Linked DNA regions of Homo sapiens: region 1 is linked to region 2. The links are contacts of gene promoters, found by promoter capture Hi-C in human tissues and cell types (Jung and others, 2019). All regions are on one chromosome and are shown on one strand. The core of a region is centred on a gene start or on the middle of the fragment in contact, and the rest is flanking DNA. Distances in the headings are between cores, read along the strand shown. Region 1 has its middle 27 kb from the start of ERICH6B. Region 2 holds the start of SIAH3 (siah E3 ubiquitin protein ligase family member 3).

Evidence for each region. The method cuts DNA at HindIII sites, captures the fragments that hold promoters and counts their contacts. A contact is called where the count stands out against the background at its distance.
Region 1: a fragment that was not itself captured here is called in contact with the fragment with the promoter of SIAH3 in region 2 in 2 of the 25 tissues and cell types used here (mesenchymal stem cells and mesendoderm cells).

What each region holds. Positions count from the first base shown.
Region 1 is chr13:45,641,089-45,644,635 of GRCh38, reverse strand. No RefSeq gene overlaps it. Among named protein-coding and RNA genes, the nearest start is that of ERICH6B, 27 kb to the right of the region's middle. The HindIII fragment of the contact is 3,633 bases long and covers 210-3,547 here.
Region 2 is chr13:45,849,868-45,853,206 of GRCh38, reverse strand. It overlaps SIAH3 (siah E3 ubiquitin protein ligase family member 3), which reads left to right and starts at 1,454. Exons shown (of 2, transcript NM_198849.3): 1 at 1,454-1,712. The coding sequence starts at 1,578. RefSeq lists an enhancer at 2,345-2,882. The HindIII fragment of the contact is 6,525 bases long and covers 1-3,339 here.

The DNA.
Region 1 (3,547 bases), core at 777-3,276, 210 kb after region 2:
ATATAATATTGGAATTATCTGGTCTGTAAGAATTAGACAGAATTCAACAGTAAATTCATCTGGTCCTCATACCTTTTTGAACTTATTTCATGGTAATTAATTGGTCTAGTCGAGTTTTCAACTTCTTTAGTCAATTTTAGTGACTTAAATTATGATTTCTCATGGGCCAGTAGTTGTGCCCTCACATTTGTATCATAATCTAATATATATTCTCAGTCTCTCTCTCTCTCATTCTCATTCTCTCACCCTCTTTTCTCTCACCACCAACATTAATCAGGCTTTCTTGCAAGGAATTTATTCTCTCTTTTATTGATTTTTTAAAGAAATCATCTCATTTAACTTCCACATTTGGAGAGAGTTCCATTTTATTAATTTCAGCTCTCTGTAAGTTGCTTTGTTACTTTTTTTTCTAATTTCTTAAGATGAAGCTAAAATCCTTGTTTTATCTGTCTTCTTTAATAATAAAGGTACAATGTGTTTTCATTTTCTGTCTTCTGGATCATTTGTAATTTCAATTTCCTCTTCAATTCAAAAGTTATCTAGAAAAGTCTTGATTTTCTCTTTTTTTTTTTTTTCAAGTGAAAGCAAGTTTATTAGGAAAGTGAAGGAATAAAAGAATGGCTACTCCAAAGACAGAGCAACCCCAAGGGTTGCTGGTTCCCCATTTTTATGTTTATTTCTTGATGATATGCTAAACAAGGGGTGGATTATTCATGCATCCCTTTTTTAGACCATATAGGTTAACTTCTGGACATTGTCATGGCATTTGTAAACTGTCACGGTGCTGGTGGGAGTGTAGCAGTGAGGACGACCAGAGTTCACGCTTGTCGCCATCTTGGTTTTTGTGGGTTTTGGCCATCTTCTTTACTGCAATCTGTTTTATCAGCAAGGTCTTTGTGACCTGTATCTTGTACTGACCTCCTATCTCATCCTGTGACTTAGAATGCCTTAACCATCTGGGAATATAGCCCAGTAGGTGTTAGCCTCATTTTACCCAGCTCCTATTCAAGATGAAGTTGCTCTGGTTCAAACGTCTCTGACATTTCCCCCCTCCCTTTCATAAGAGAACCCTTAATCCTAAGGGTTGCAGAGGGATAAAGATCCATCTTCTGTAACTTCTTCAGGCTAAATAGGGATAATGATATTCCTGCCTAACTGTGAGTGTCTCTTGTATTTGGGGTAGAGAGGAGCTCAGTCAGAAAGCATCAGTATGGTAAGGGCCATTCATAACTCTTGAGTTCCAACAAAAGGTGATACCTGGAAGATTAATACATGTTGAATTTAAGAAAATATTCAGTAAGCTTGTCCTGCCTTCCTACACAAAGAGCACAGCAGCAACTTATTCCACAACAACAGTAAAACACAATAAGTAAAATTATTCCAAGTAAACTAATTTACATAGAACTAATTCCAGTTCTATGAACTGGGCAACTGTGGAACCAAGCTGATATGGGGTCGCTAGCTGATTCCAATGTACCCAAAATTAGAATATTGATCCAGATTTTTACATTACCCAATCCCTCTTGTTTCTTCTGAGCAGCAGTCAAGAGATCAGTGGTTGGTTCACAGGAATAAGTAGGGTTAGCCTAAATTGCAGAAACAAACTTAAAAATAACTTATGAGACTAAAATTTAGTAACAAGTGTACCATAGTTCTTGTAACATATTTCTCTCTTGTTTCCCATTTTTACTAAAGACAAATCATGGTAAGACTGATTTGCATTATTATGCTTGGCCTGATTATTTGTATAAAGTGCAGGAAGAATAATTATTTTTCACATAGATTCTTTTTAAATTGGCTTTGATGGAACTCTGTTCCATAGAAGAAATCTCAGATAAGACTTTTTTTTAAGCCAAGCCTACCATGGGTTTGTACCCTCAAATACCTATGAGTTGAGTGAATTCCTCTCCTCTTGGGGTCCCAAGATAACTTGGGGCTCCTGGGTCTGTGAGAAAGTGACATTCTTTACTTATCACAGGTCATAAACCCTCTACAGGGACTGCATAGGTAAAGTATGAGGCCAGTTCCCCAAGGGGCTTTTATTGGCTTTAAAAGTCAAGTTTGATTCCTTAAAGCACAGCATAGCATTCCAGTCAAAGTCTTGGTAAAATAACCAGTTTTTCCAATTGTGTCCTGTTACAAAAGAAAACAGATTCTTATTGCACTTATGCAAATAACTATGTTGCCATATGTTAAGAATACTCACAAATAGTTTTCAAATTTTGGAGAAATCAGGTAGAGAGAAACAAATATGGTCCAAATTTTGTTCACAGGAGTATACGTTACTCAATTGTTAAAAGCTGTAAATAGCTCAAAAGAAAAGTTTTCTTGACTCACATATAAAACTGTTTCTTAAGTAGTCTCAATTTCATATTACAGTGTTGACTCTTAGTGACTTTTACTTTTGGTGAAAACCTTAATAAGTTTGGGATTTTAATTATGTGCTAGGTGTAGAGCCTAGGACAGCAGACAGAAGTGCAGATAAGGTCTGATTCTTTCCAGCATCTAACTTCACGTGTGCCAGGTCTTACCTAGAAAAAGTCAGCCCCGATCAGTTCTGCAGTCTATTTCCTTTGGATTGGAGTCTCCTCAGTATCGTCCCTTCCATGTTTCACCAGAAGAAACATGTTACTGGACCTCACCACTTACCAAAAGCTAGGGGTTTCCATACTATAGTCTCTTCAGTGGTCACCAGAAAGATGTTACAGGAAAGGGGTCCTGATCCCTTTCTGTTCTGGGCCCTGAGAACCCCAAGAGAGGGTTCTCAGATCTCACACAAGAAAGAATTCAGGGTGAGTCCACAAAGTGAAAGCAAATTTATTAGGAAAGTAAAGGAATAAAAGAATGGCTACTCAATAGACAGAGTAGCCAAGTCTTGATTTTCAAATAGTCAAATTTTGAGAGAGGTGAGAGCAGCAGTAAGAAGAATCGTTTTCTTATTATTTTACTGTTATTTGATTGTTACCAGAGAAGGTGACTTTGAAATCTCTATTTTCAATTCCAGGCCAAGATGGCCAAATAGGAACAGCTCCAATGTGCAGCTCCCAGCAAGACCTAAACAGATGATGGGTGATTTCTGCATTTTCAACTGAGGTACCCAGTTCATCTCACTGGGAATGGTTAGACAGTGGGTGCAGCCCATGGAGGACAAGCAGAAGCAGGATGAGGCATCACCTCACCCGGGAAGCGCAAGGGGTCAGGGCATTACCCCTCCTAAACAAAGGAAGTCATGAGGGACTGTGGCATTAGGGATGGTGCTCTCCAGCCCACATACTACGTTTTTCCACTATCTTCACAACCCACAGACCAGGAGATTCCCTTGGGTGCCTATACAACCAGGACCCTGGATTTTAAGCACAAAACTGGGTGGCCATTTGGGCAGACACCGAGCTAGCTGCAGGAGGTTTTTTTCATACCACAGTGTGCCTGGAACACCGCAACACAACTGTTCACTCCCCTAAAAAGGGGGCTGAAGCCAGGGAGCCAAATGGTCTTGCTCAACAAATCCCACCCCCATGGAGCCCAACAAGCTAAGACCAACGGGCTT
Region 2 (3,339 bases), core at 205-2,704:
AAATGAACAGCCTGGGCTCTGTCCTGGCATCAATAAACTTGTGCATTATTTTTATCCCGTATGTTATTCTGTTGTTAGTTTAACTGCCTGACCAGGTCACAGACCTAGGTGTTCCACGTGTGCATATGTTTTGCATACATTACAACCCAAGCATTGTAGCCAGAGCAGAACAAGAGCCATGAGGGAGGGGGCTCACACTCACAGGGTACAATTCACAGTGGGGGCTGATCCTGCTCCAGGCAGCACTGGATCTGGCCTGACTTCTCAAGAGAGAAACAACCAGGGAAGAGGGAAAACACAATACACTGAACTCCCCTGCTTTAGCTGCAAAGACTAAACCATCAGAGCTAGTCCCGAAAAACCCAAAACCCTTCAAGTACTGCTTAGGAATCTTTCTTCAAGAACCAGCGGCCTCCCGCCCACCCACCAGCCCTGTTCTGGGGAGCAAGGACAGGTTTGCAGTCTGAGGACTGGAATGCCCTCTGCCTGTGCCAGCACAGAAATGTGCTGCTAGCATTTGCAGAAACAAGTAAATGATGTGGTATGTGCATCCTTAATCTCTATTTTAATGTCTCCAGCAATCTAGTGGTTAATTAGCAATTTGCTGCCCACCAATATGCAAATGAATGACAAGCAAAGGTTCTCTGCATCTGTAATTATTTTGCTGATTTACAAGCCTCTTTCCTCTCAGTGTAGGTTTTTCTGTGTGTGTGCATTCATGCATCAGGGATTTCATTATTTTTTGAAGCATACTCTGTGCATTTTTATCCTTTAATACTTTCAGACTTCAGTAATCACAGTATTTTGAAAAAAAGAAAATATATATATATGTATAGTAATATATATGTATGTGCTTCCCTCCACCCCTCAACTCCAAATGAATTTGTCAGGGATTCTTTTCTTTGATAAAGAGTGGAGAGTAAGATTTATCAAGGGGCTGTAATCCAAATTGCAGAAAGTCAGAACGCAAGATTGAAAGATACACATTTTTGCTGCTGCCAAGTCCTTATCTGGATTCAGAGTCTAGTAATATTTTATTTTCTCCCAAGCAGCTCTGGTGAGTCGAGCCATGATCTGCGTTATCCATCTGCCTACTTTGGAGCGGGGTGTTGTACTATTTGGCGGCTTAAACGCTTTACGTTCTTGCCAGGGCATTAAGAAAGGCTCTCATGTTAAATTAAGTCAATTAATAAATGGAGACACATTAAGCAATCAATTTTGTCAGCCTATCTCCCCAGCATTAGGTATGGTTGGCTGTAATCACAAGATAAATGCAATGTGCTGATCTATGGTAATGTTCAATAATACATTCTCCGCCAGGCTCAATTCATCAGGGAGTTTCGGTAGGGAAGGCATTTGTTATTGGCTGTCTCTGCACCTCAAGGATAACATTTCTGTCCTTTTGATTGGCCGCCTCACTGCTGCAAGATTCTAACCGTCTTATTTTGATGATGAATATGAAGGCGCGCTAAGCCGGGCTGGAGCGGAGTGTCTCAGAGGCTGCGCTCCTTCCAGGGCCCAAGGACTCACAGCTTCCTCCGCTGCCTTCCCGGACCAACAACCCCCCAAAAGTTGTGATGCTTTTCTTTACCCAGTGCTTTGGGGCTGTATTAGATCTCATTCATCTCCGGTTTCAGCACTACAAGGCTAAACGGGTTTTCTCCGCTGCCGGGCAACTTGTCTGTGTCGTCAACCCCACACACAACCTAAAGGTGAGTCTCTGTGTCATTTTACCTTCACCGGGCTCAGGTTCAAGTCCTTTCTCGGAGGCGGCAGCGACCCTCCGGCGAACGTGTGCAGCCCTTTGCAAACCCGGGTCTCGGGGGCTGGGACGGTGTCTGGAACCCGGCGTGTTTGCCTCGGCTCACTCTCGCTCTCTAGGTGATTGGGTGCTGTTAGTGACCGAGTGTTGTTTCCCCAGCTGGCAGGAAAAGCTGGATTGATGGTCTGATGTCTTTCCCCGACGCTGTCAACCTGAGAGTGGCGTGGGGGGCAGAAGTGAGGGTGGTGGAGGGAACAGGGGGGCGTCCCCATCACTCCCCCTACTATTTGTGGGCAAGTGCTCAGGAGACAGGATTTGAAGTTAGCCAAATTCTCTCTGTCCCATGTGTTGGGAGAGGTGGTCAAACACGAGGATTTTAGAAGCTACTGGGGGGTGAGGAATCCTGAAACAGGGACTTGGACGTCGGTGGGGTGGGGGGAGGGTTCTTTCTGCAAAGTGTTTGTCCTTGTCCTCAGACTCGTGTGTGTGTGTGTGTGTGTGTGTGTGTGTGTGTGTGTGTGTGTGGTGTCGGGAGGATTTTGGCTTATTTCCTTCCTGCTGGTTAGATGCGCTCTGTGTACTGGAGCAGGATTTGCCTGGCTTGTGTAATAATGACACCAGCTTCTAGCTGCTGCCGCCGCTGCCTGGAGCACCCTAGGCAGCTGGGTGCTGGGTTGCTCGCGGCTGCCTAGCTGCCCCGGGGCCTCTGCATTTGTACCCTCAGGTCAGTGCCCTTTTAGAGACCAGACAAAATATGGGGTCCGGCAGAGCCGCTTAACATCACAGCCAAGACTGACTGGGAAAGGAATGATGGGCCACTGGTTAGGGGTAGTAGGGAGGAGGGGAAGTCAGGGAGGTGGGGGCTGGGGAGAGGGTGCAGCTGAACTCCCCGGATGGGAAACTCAGCACCTTGCCTCTCTCCTAACATAAAAGATGGACTCATTGGAAGTTCCTTTCCTGTACTCCTGTGTAAGGCAGGCAGGACTGAGTGCCGGGGGAGGGGCCGTGTCTGTAGCGACAGTGCCTGACAGTCTCTGTGAGGATAGATCTGTCCCTCTGACCACTGCTGTTGGGCAGGAAGAGCATTGCCTGTTGTCCATTACTTTATAAACTCCCACGGCCGGACTGTCCTCAGCTGGAGCCCCGCAGGTCAGCGCTGATGGGTGCCCCCACTCCTAGAAGTTCCGCCGAAAGACAGCTGCCTGGAGCTGCTGGGGTTACATGCCAAGGCCAGTCCTGGGGGAGGGGCGATGGACTATCCTGGGACCCCTATGGTGCATCTGACCTAGGATCTGACTCTCTCTGATATCCCAGCTGTGACGAATGCCATCGCATGCAACCGTTCACACCTGCTCTTGCTTGCGCGCTCTTGCCTCTCATTCCACTATTTCTTTTTTTCTTTTATAGCTTAGTTTTATAAATGAGAATTTACTACCAGTCATCCTTGGCAAAGCAAGTATGTAGTATGCACATTAAAATAAAATTCTGAATTCCATTTTATGGCCACTTTTGAGACTGCATTCAAACTTCCATTATTTTTTCCACTTTGGATTAGTTAGTTCCCTGGGGCAAGAAAT